4 separate regions of the Homo sapiens genome follow, and regions 1, 2 and 3 are each linked to region 4. Evidence: promoter capture Hi-C in 16 types of primary human blood cells and fetal thymus (Javierre and others, 2016). All regions are on one chromosome and are shown on one strand. Each heading gives the region's core, a stretch centred on a gene start or on the middle of the fragment in contact. The rest is flanking DNA. Distances are from core to core; before and after follow the strand shown.

Region 1 (2,700 bases), core at 178-2,677, 570 kb after region 4:
TGAAAGTAGCTCTCAGCAGATCGGGGAGTCAGAAGGGAGACGGTTTTTCCCTGGAGTCCTGCCGCTGGACCCTTTTCCAACCGCTCTGGCCAAACTTCGTCTTCTGCTGGTTGATGGCCTGCTGGTGCCTGTCAGCATGCTCTTCTGCGGCGTGCTCTCCATGACCAGCTATTTGTGTCTTCTTCTGTCCAGCCACTTGTGTGTGTGTGCCTGCTAGGGTCTCAAGTTTTTATAGGCACAGAATGGGGCATGGCAGGCCAGGGTGGTCTTGGGAAATGCAACATTTAGGCTCCAAGGCAGGAGTGCCTGTCCTTCGCTAGGTCCTTGGGGGTGGATCCCTAGCCAGGGACCACGCCCTACTCTACCCAGCACTTCCCTTCCCCGCTTCCGCTTCCGTGTCATTTAAAGGGACGATGCTCTTCGCTTCTCAGCACTCCCATATCAGTTGTAATATGACAGGTGACAATGTTACAAGGCTGTGTAGCAAAATGTTTTCTGGAAGCTAGCACTGTCAAGGAGGAAACTATAGGAGGAAAGGTAGTTGTGGTAATAGAACAAATCTACTAGAAATAACTAACCATGTGGTCTAGGAGGAAAGGAAGGGGCAAAGGTCTGGGTGGAGTGAATGGGGTTTAGAGACAGTATATTAATATAAGAGTTAGCTACTTAGGAGTAAATAAGGAGGTCTGGTTGAGAGAAGAATAATGCACAAGCATTGTGACAGGGACAGTACAGCCCACTATGTAAAGGTCAAGGACACAGAATGCTATGGAGAAGTTGCAGAGAGATGGCCTTAGTTACAGAATTATGTAATATTTCCCCTGTCCACAGGCCAAATAAAACACAGAAGGTATACCCTTTGGCACCCTAGGCTTCTAGGTAAATAATATTTTTTCATAATGCATTGGATACCTACAAAGCTTTAGGAATTCAGAATAAATAAGGCTGAAATATCAAATTATATCAAATTATAATACTGTTTCTCAGCATGCATTCAACTTTCAGTTACAGTAGCTGCTTTGGAATAGATTTCCTCTTTTTTCTTTCTTTGCTATTTCAGATTTTGAATGTTTGAGCAGCAATCAAACCTAGAAAGCAACTCTCATGAACATTGTAGGCAGAACAAAGGCCTGAGGAACCACCTTAATCCTAGCTCCAGTTTGTGGGGGATCACCTTAAAGGTTCTTGCAATTTCGGCCAGGCATGGTGGCTCACGCCTGTAATCCCAGCACTTTGGGAGGCTGAGGTGAGTGGATCACCTGAGGTCAGGAGTTCAAGGCCAGCCTGACCAATATGGTGAAACCCCATCTCTACTACAAATACAAAAATTAGCCAGACGTGGTGGTGCACACCTGTAATTCTAGTTACTCAGGAGGCTGAGGCAGGAGAATTCCTTGAATTTGGGAGGCAGAAGTTGCAGTGAGCCGAGATTGTGCCATTGCACTGCAGCCTGGGTGACAAGAGCAAAACTCTGTCTCAAAAAAAAGAAAAGAAAAGAAAACTAGAGCTTTTCTCCAAATTATTACATTAATATAACTTTAGAATAGAAAACTGGAAAATACAGAAAAGTAGGAAGAAGAAAAAACTCACCCGAAGTCCTACCAATGACAACGTCTATTAATCTGATTGCATTTATTTCCTATTTCTTTAAATAAGATTAAAAATGGTTCTGACCCTACAGTATATATTTTACATCCTGCTTTTTTCAATAACATAAGATATTATATTAAAATTTACTAAAACTGGGTATTTACATGAATGAAAATTAATCTTGACCCACAACACACACCATTCACAAAAATTAATTCAAGGTAGCTCATAGCCCTAATACAAAAGCTAAGACTATGAAGTTAATCTATAGAAGCTAAACACTAAAGCTACAACTATAAACAAGAAAAGAGAGGAGAATATCTTTGCAATCTAGGCAAAGCTTTTTTAGAACAAAAAATGCTCTAACCAGAAAAGACAAAAAAAGATAGATTAGGTTCATCAAAATTACTTTTACTTTTTGCTCATCAGAAGATGCTATTAAACTGAAAAAATGCAACAGATTGGGGAAAATATTTGCAATTTATATATCTGACAAAGGATTTGTATCCAGAACGTATAAAGAATCCCTATAAAATTCAATACTAAAAGGACAAACAATCCAAGTTCATTGCCTAAATTCACATCAAGTAGGTGGTCAAGTGGTTGCAGGTATCTCTCAAAAGAGAGCTGGAAGGATTAGTTTGAAGCAGAAGCATCCTTGACAGAGAGGATTAGCTACAATCAGGGAAGGAAACAGGAGTGAGGGAGAGTCTCAAGACATAGTAAGCAACTAAAAAATCCAATAAATATAACTAAGAGTTGAATATACTTTACTTTGGCTAAGTGGTCTGTATCAGTCAGCTTTTGCCGCATAACAAACAACCACAAAATCTCAGTGGCATACAATGTCCATCTATTTCTCACATGTCTGAAGTTGGATGAAACAACTCTACTTCAGGACTTGGTAGCTGGGGTGGTCCTACTTCTTTGGATCATACTTCTTCAGATACACACTTCTTGAATCAGCCAAGGTGGCTGTGCCCCAGATGCTTCATTCTAGGGCTCAGAATGAAGACAGAGCAGCTTCCCTGGAGACATTCTGCTCATGGTGATATAAGAGGCACAAGAGAGCAAGCTTCACTACACAAACATATTTCAAGTTTTTCTTTG
Region 2 (2,700 bases), core at 173-2,672, 690 kb after region 4:
TTTTACTTGCAACAATGATTAATATCTTAGTATTCATTTATTTATTAAGGTTCCTAAGGCGAAAGTACAGAGGGAGGAGTGAATGTGTTGGGATAATTTTAAAACATGGAAAGGCTAAATCTAGGAAAGCATTGAAGTACCTTTTTTTTTCTGTTCTTTTTCTTCCTCCTATCCCTCCCTGAGAGACAGGATCTCGCTATGTTGCCCACCTGGCCTCGAACTCCGGGGCGCAAGCCATCCTCTCACCTCCGCCTCCCAAGTAGCTGGGACCACAGGCGAGCTGGGATCACAGGCATGCACCACCACACTTGGCTTAAAGTGGAAGTCTGAGTATGAGTAGCCCAGAGGTCTGAGGAGTGAAGACAGGAAAACCAGGTGAAGGAGAAGGGTAAAGAATGAGGAATAAGAAACTGAGAAAGGGGAACTGAAAGGGGGATGATAATCACCTTCTTATGTAAAGAAATATGCCATTTCTTTTATAAAAGGCATATTTCCAGATTCTAGAAAACTAGAGTTTTATTCCTCAGTTACAGTATAAAATATATCTTTAGTTATAATTTTCCCTCTCAGGTTGGGCATTCTTTTCTTAAGTTGTTCTAAGCATAGTGTTTTAGAAAGCTTCATTAGGGTATACTTTTGTAACATTAATTACTAAGGTTTATTATTAAGGTTTATTAATGTTTCCTTATGCATTTTCCAGGTACAGGCTGACACTTTCTGTTTTAGGCTCAAGAGTGGTATTGAAATTCTGTGTATGTTTTAATTTGACTTCTGATTTCAGCATAATTATAGGTTTGAGAATTTTATTCTATTTTATATGACCAAGTAACTTAGGGCAGTGGAAGTAAAAGGCCTGGGATATGATCAAGTTGAGTGATAAGGGAAGGGAAGCCCACTGGTAGTATGTAACTTGCCCTGTATATATTTTGTCCTGAAGCAAAAACAGGTTACCAAATAAAGGCATGATTTTGTAGTATCTCATGCTCGATTTTTAAAATAATATTTAATTTTTTTGAAGTGCTGATGTTTTTACTGAAGAATACAGGAAAATTTATACTGAAATTGTTTTTTTCAGGATATATACTGAAGGTATTAAAAAATAGTAAATGTACAAATCATCCAACCCTAATAAAAAGGAATGCTCTGAACCAAACAGAAGCAGATTACATCCCTTTCAAAAATTTGAAAGAATGCAGTATTTTACCATAAAAAGAGTACAGCTTTGAAGTGAGACAGACCTAATTTCACATGTATGCTCCTAGTGCATATTAGCTACAGCTCCTCCATCAGTTTCTTTACCTGTTTATAGCCTGTTTCTTTATCTGTGATAAGTGAGGTAATACCTACTTGGCTGTATTGTTAAGATTAATTAGAATAACAAATGCGCAGTATGTCACTTGGAGCTTGGCACATGGTAGGAATCAATAAATGGTAACTTAAGATATTTGTGCAGTAGAATTACATAATGGAAGGAGCTTAGACTTTGTAGTTAGAATCCCTGACTGTGGTGCTTACTTACTGTGTGACACATGAGTGAGTTAATTAATCTTTTTGATCTTCAGTTATCCAGTATTACAGTAGAGTTATTACCTACCTGGGAGGGTTATATTGAGAAATAAATAAGTTAATTTATACAGACCACTTTACTAAGTATCTGACACACAGCAGGTTCTCAATAAATGTTAATCTTCTTACTACCACTACTAGGTCATGTTGAAACTCTTTGGTGAATTGTTTAAATTATTTAAAATCGTTGTCAGTGTTTTCTTCACTATAAAGTAGACTTAAATGGACCCTCAGAATTGTAAACAGTTACCTGCATCCCTTTTCCTACCCCCTAGACTGTTGGTGACATTTCTGAAAAAAGTAGGATTCTTGTATTTAGGGATCACTTCTTAGAACTTATGTGTGCTAAATGCTGTAAATACAGAGTGAATAATGTGATTTCTGTCACCAATAATTTACAGTATAGTAAGGATGACAAACATAAGAACAGACAATTACAGTACTCTAAGTTAAGTATTACATTCATTGATTTGTGTACAAAGTAGAGTGGTAGTTTAGAGGACATGCATAAGAAGAACTGAGATGGAGTAAGTAAAAAGAATTTAAAGAAAATTAAAAGATTTTCTGTTTAGGCTTTTCTCACCATAGCTTAGCTAAAGCTAAAGCAATAGCTAACATTTATTGATCACCTACCATGTGCCTAGCAGTAGTATAAGCTTTTGGGGTGTTATAACCCATTTAATTCTCACAGAGTAGGTAATACTATTATCCCTTGTTTTACAGATGAAGAAACTGCACAAAGAAATAAAGCAGTTTGCTCAAGGTCTTGTATGTGATAGCTGTTATACATGACCTCTATAATAGTAGGTGGTTGTAGCAGGCACTCAAACCCAGGTAGTTTAGTTCTAAAACTCAAGCTTATAACCAATATGTAACATTACCTCCAATTTCCTAATAACATTTAAGCATCCTAATGACGTGGTGAACTGAAATACCAAGTAACCACCTTAGCTTCTCAGTCCATTCAAATAGAGTAGCTGCTAGAGTTAACTGAGAATTTAGTACCTGTGTTTAGTGCCTGTGTAACAATAAGATGAAATTCATGGGACTATCAAGGGTGACCTCTGTTGTGCTTATAAATGAATACAAAATCAAATGGCGCTTTTTTTTTAAGCTAATCAGAGTAGGGCTGGT
Region 3 (2,700 bases), core at 61-2,560, 600 kb after region 4:
TTTATTTTTAATGATACATCATTTTCTCCATTAAAAAAAAACAGGGGTAAAGATCGAGTAAATGCCACAAGCTTAGAATATTGCACTGAATTGTTATGTAAATCAAAGCAACATCTTTAAAACAAATCAGAGCTCTTAAGAAACTTTATATGAAAACAAAAAAAAAACCAATGAACATAAAGCCATATTTTTATACAAAGTATATATAGTGTGTACATATTGTGTATCCTCTTTTTTCCATATAAACATTTCAACATGTCTTAAAGTATCGTGGGTGTTTTTTCCAAGATGGCGGATTGGAGGCATCATTAGCATGCCTCTCCCAGTTGGAAAGACAAAATTGTGTGTAGAGATTCACACTGTGAACTTTATTTCAAGAAGCAACACAGGAACTTAACAGGAAAACTGATGGAAACCAGACCCTTTGAAAGAAGCGGCAGGCTGCAGCCTACACCATGAGCCAGGCGTAAACCTGAAAATCCCCAGAGTGTGAGCAGGGAGAAGCTGCCTCTGGGATATACATTTCCACCGGAGAACCTGGCAATCCAGGCCACAAGGGAAGGTTTTAACCCTACCCAGTGCTAGAGCTAATGCAGTGAACGGTGGGGAGCATATGAGAAGGAGTAGCATTGGGACATGCTGTGTGTGCACTCCCAGTCTCCAGTGGGGACAGAGGGAAGCCATTCTTGATCCTGCCTCACAGGGTACTTCACTTTAGAAGTCAGCCAGCTAATTCAGGCAGCAGTCACAGGACGAGAGAAGCTCCCAATGGAGATTAAGCAGGAGCTGCGTGCCCCTGCTTCTTGGGCAGACCAGGAGGAGTGTGGCCTGAAAGCCTCAATATCTGCCTCCATGGAGAAGGCTTATGGTCTGCGGCAGTTTTGAGTTCTGATCATAGGCCTTAAACCCAGTGAGCTGCTGCTAGTGGAACATTCCAGGTGCGAGACCTGCCTTGCCAAGTGCATGGAAACTAGGTGCGGCTTACTGCCACCTGCTGCTCCCCACTCCCCTTGTAGACTCTTCTATTCAGCAGAAGCAGCTGTACTCCCTCATGGAACAGTGCTCCAGCAGCCAGAGAACTGCTCTGATCCCCACTGGGGCCACTGCTTGCGTCTGCACACCAAGAACCAGCCTCTACCTGGCTTTGCCCCTCCACCAGAGCTAATCACCTAACACAAAGGACAGAAACTTTGGGGAGCCCTATGGCCCTGCTCATTGCCTGAGATACCAGAGTACTTCCCCTGGGTAACAGAAGGCAAGCACAAACGAAGGTCACATTTCAGGAAATACGTGAATGAAGGAAGAGAGGTAGCTTGGCACATGAGCACATTTTTTAGGAAGTGATGTGATGAAACGATCAAAGATGGAGGCCAGCTGATACAGCCACTACAGCATCTTCAGGCAGAAGAACACAGTGCTCAGGAAGGCGAAAACTTGTGCATGACCTCAGCTATCACAATTGCTTTCATTACCCTACTAACCAGGAGGTCCTAAGTCTGTCCGTGTGACCAGTTCATTACTACTACAGCTGGCATTTGAGAAAGCCAACACACCAAGGCTATTTATAACCAAAGAATCTCACAGAGTCTACATCACTCCCCAGCCACCTCTATCTGATCTGGTGCTGGTACCCACTGCTGGGAGACTTGAGGACAGGTCACATCATTGGATCCCTTGCAGACATTCCTTAGCACCGGCCTGGAGGATGGCAGCCCAACTGGACAGCTAGACACAGAGGAGCAGCAGCATTCACAGTAGTCTGGCCTTCAGGGACTCCTACTCCTGGGGAAAGGGGGGTATACCTTATCAAGGGAGTACCCCCATGGGACAAAAGAATCCAGGTGGCAAACCTTGAGTCCCAGGACTTTCTTCTTGTGGGAAGTTTATTTCAGCAGAGGTACAGATGCAGTGCTGAGCCCAGTGGGGGAAAGTCTATGACTCTACCCAACAGGCAGCCCTGGTGCTCATGAAGGGTCTTGGAGAAGGGGATTTCTTCTTCCCCTCACCCACCACTGCAGACACAGCTGGGGCTTCTCCCATAGGAGCTCAGCATGGGTGCAAACAGTAGACAGCCTTTTGGGAACACTTTAGGGTGACTGCATCCCCACAGAAGGAGTACCCTCCAGGTTCAGACTTGCATGAGGAATAGAGATCACCATCCCTCTCTACATGGAATATCAACATTCCTGCAAATGAAAAGAGGTGCCTGTCTGATCTGAATAGCCAGAACACTGGGTCAGGAGTTTGACTGGAAAGTGGATAGCTTTCCTGCTGGACTGGCAGGGAAGCTGAGGTGGCTCCCACTTTTCCTCCTGATAAGACCTCAGTGTGTTTCACTGAGAACTCCCCCAGCCATTTCTGTCAAGGCTGGGACCTCTGCCCACCATTGGGTATTGCGTTTACCCAACTGCTTTAGCCACAGCCAATGTTTAACCATGGACACCTGCTCTACTGGCCTGAAGCCTGAACTGTTCAACCCAGTAAATGAAATACTGGGGGAAAAATAAATAAATAAAAAGTGCACACCACTGGGGAGTGAGATAAGCTTCAAGAGGCCTCTGCCATTCCCACAGGAGACAGTGAATCTGCTCACACACCATGCATATTGCTACTACACCCAGCATCTGAGAAAGCCATCATAAAAAGACTCTCTATAACTAAGAAACTCATAAAGAATGTTTAACCCTGAAAGCATTCAGA
Region 4 (2,700 bases), core at 201-2,700:
ACTGGAATTTTAAAAGTTCATTCTCTTGCTAAAACTGTCATGAGACAGCTGGAGATGGTACATTTACAAAAAATCCAGTTCTAGATGGCTAACTTTCAAAGTAAGACGACAGTGAACAATGTCTATCTTAATATCCTTTGTACTTTTGCTGGGCGCAGTGGCTCACGCCTGTAATGACGGATCACGAGGTCAGGAGATCGAGACCATCCTGCCTAAAACGGTGAAACCCCGTCTCTACTAAAAATAAAAATAAAAAATGGCCGGCCGTGGTGGCACGTGCCTGTAGTCCCAGCTACTCAGGAGCCTGAGGCAGGACAATCGCTTGAACCCGGGAGGTGGAGGTTGCAGTGAGCCAAGATCGCGCCACTGCACTCCAGCCAGGGCGACAGAGCGAGATTCCGTCTCAAAAACAACAACAAAATATCCTTTGTAGTTTTACACACACACGTATATGTATATACAGTACATATATTTAAAAAAACATATACACACACACACACAGTTCTTTTTTTTTTTTTTTTCCTGAGTCTCGTTCTGTGGCCCACGCTGGAGTGCAGTGGTGCGATCACATCTCACTGCAGCCTGAAACTCCCTGACTCAAGCAATCCTCCCACCTCAGCCTCCAGAGTAGCTGGGACTTCAGAAGCACGCAACCACGCCCCACTAATTTTTGTATTTTTTGTAGAGACAGGGTTTCACAATGCTGCCCAAGCTGGTCTCGAACTCCTGGGCTCAAGCTATCCTACCGCGTCGGTTTCCGAAAGTGTTGCGATTACAGGCGTGAGCCATAGCGTTACATGTGGTGGGGGGGAAGAGAGAGAAAGAGAGAGAGTGAGAAGAAGGAGGAGGAGGAGGAGGAGGAGAAAGAAGGAAGAAAGAAAAGAAAAGAAATATAGAGAGGGTGTTCAAATCTACTGTTCAAGTGCTTTCCATGTACATATAATCTCTTTTTAAAATCCCATCCAGCTCTGTTGAGATGAGAAAACTGAAGCTCTGAGAGGTTGAGTAACTTTATCACGCTCCCGCAAAGATAAAAGAACCGCCATCTGCCCATATTAATTTCCCTGAGATGAAATGTGACAGAGAAAGATACCTCAAAATTAAGGAAATGGAGAGCTTCGAGAATCATCTTCCATCTCCGCCGAGTCCCCCAGGAACTTGGCCCGGAGTCTTTGGGCTGTCCCACCTGATCTTGCCCCAGTGCGGCTCCACACCCTGGCGGGCGGCGTACGGAGCGTCCCGGCCCCCGGCACCAGCCAGCGTCGGAGTGGGTAGGACTGGAGATGGCAGCCTCCGGTCCAGGGGAAGCGGGACTCCACGGAAGGGCTGGGAAGAGGGTAGGAAGAGGGGGCGGGGGCGGGAACTGTTCCGCCCCCTCCCCCTCTGTCTACTTTCATTGGCCAAGGGCTTCCTGGCCCCAACCCACCTCCCGCCTCCAGGGCGCCGCTTAAAGTGTGCGGAGCAGGTGCCTTGGGTGGAGCCACAACTTTGCGCGAGTGTCTTGGTTGAGCGCAGCGCCCATTCATTGCCCGCGAGCGTCCATCCATCTGTCCGGCCGACTGTCCAGCGAAAGGGGCTCCAGGCCGGGCGCAGCCGCCACCCGGGGGACCGAGGCCAGGAGAGGGGCCAAGAGCGCGGCTGACCCTTGCGGGCCGGGGCAGGGGACGGTGGCCGCGGCCATGCAGTCCTGTGCCAGGGCGTGGGGGCTGCGCCTGGGCCGCGGGGTCGGGGGCGGCCGCCGCCTGGCTGGGGGATCGGGGCCGTGCTGGGCGCCGCGGAGCCGGGACAGCAGCAGTGGCGGCGGGGACAGCGCCGCGGCTGGGGCCTCGCGCCTCCTGGAGCGCCTTCTGCCCAGACACGACGACTTCGCTCGGAGGCACATCGGCCCTGGGGACAAAGACCAGAGAGAGATGCTGCAGACCTTGGGGCTGGCGGTAAGGACCTCCACCCGGCCCTCCGCGGCCTCCCCTCCGCCCTGCCCGGGCTCTGCCTGCGCGGCCTCCCGGCTCCTACCCTGAGCTCTGCTGCGCTCCGCGTGGTCCCCGCACCCTGGGTCCCGGGCCGTGGCGTGGAAGCAAATTCGTGCCTTTGGTCCTCGTGCCTTCTTACTTCTTAACAGCTTACTTTCTCCTGCACCCAGTCTTCGTGCCTCAAAAGTGTACATTTTTAAACCACCCCCAGCCCAAGTGGCCCTGTGGATGGACCTAAACTTTGCAAGAGGAGGAAGACCCCCTGATTAAGAGTGGGCTTACCGGTTAGCTCCGGTTGCAACTGAAATCCAACCCCGAGTGGCGGAATCTCCACCCCACTTCACGATTTTCTTTCCTCCAAATCATTCTGGCTTGCTCAGAGTTTTCCTTTTCTTTTAAAAAGAACCCTAATTAGGCGATTTCAATGAGGTTCCCACAAGGCTTTGTAGTCGCAAAACACAGAGGTGACTCTTTTAACTCAGAGGCACTTTCCTCTGCCTTGCGTTTTAATTTTAGAGCATTGATGAATTGATCGAGAAGACGGTCCCTGCCAACATCCGTTTGAAAAGACCCTTGAAAATGGAAGACCCTGTTTGTAAGTGGCCGGGAGGGCTCCCTTGGACTTAGATTATTCTGGCCTATTTGTCTTTTGTGGTTCCCTGAAAATCGAGCTCTGGGGTAAGGATTGCTCAGGACTGGGAATGTGTGGATTAAAATAAAACAGTGGCGG

Evidence for each region. The method cuts DNA at HindIII sites, captures the fragments that hold promoters and counts their contacts. A CHiCAGO score of 5 or more calls a contact.
Region 1: a contact is called between a fragment that was not itself captured here and the fragment with the promoter of GLDC in region 4, in 1 of 17 cell types (endothelial precursors). The highest score is 5.2, in endothelial precursors.
Region 2: a fragment that was not itself captured here is called in contact with the fragment with the promoter of GLDC in region 4 in 1 of 17 cell types (M1 macrophages); the score reaches 5.8 in M1 macrophages.
Region 3: a contact is called between a fragment that was not itself captured here and the fragment with the promoter of GLDC in region 4, in 1 of 17 cell types (endothelial precursors). The highest score is 7.2, in endothelial precursors.

The regions. Positions count from the first base shown.
Region 1 is chr9:6,070,736-6,073,435 of GRCh38, reverse strand. No RefSeq gene overlaps it. Among named protein-coding and RNA genes, the nearest start is that of RANBP6, 56 kb to the right of the region's middle. The HindIII fragment of the contact is 1,010 bases long and covers 923-1,932 here.
Region 2 is chr9:5,956,102-5,958,801 of GRCh38, reverse strand. All of the region lies in intron 3 of BRD10 (bromodomain containing 10), which reads left to right. Among named protein-coding and RNA genes, the nearest start is that of MIR4665, 50 kb to the left of the region's middle. The HindIII fragment of the contact is 1,604 bases long and covers 621-2,224 here.
Region 3 is chr9:6,044,417-6,047,116 of GRCh38, reverse strand. No RefSeq gene overlaps it. Among named protein-coding and RNA genes, the nearest start is that of RANBP6, 30 kb to the right of the region's middle. The HindIII fragment of the contact is 2,474 bases long and covers 74-2,547 here.
Region 4 is chr9:6,644,479-6,647,178 of GRCh38, reverse strand. GLDC (glycine decarboxylase) reads left to right here and starts at 1,450. Exons shown (of 25, transcript NM_000170.3): 1 at 1,450-1,934; 2 at 2,487-2,565. The coding sequence starts at 1,680. RefSeq lists enhancers at 443-542, 593-702, 1,683-2,240 and silencers at 1,373-1,622, 1,693-1,892, 1,933-2,002. The HindIII fragment of the contact is 9,537 bases long and covers 1-2,700 here.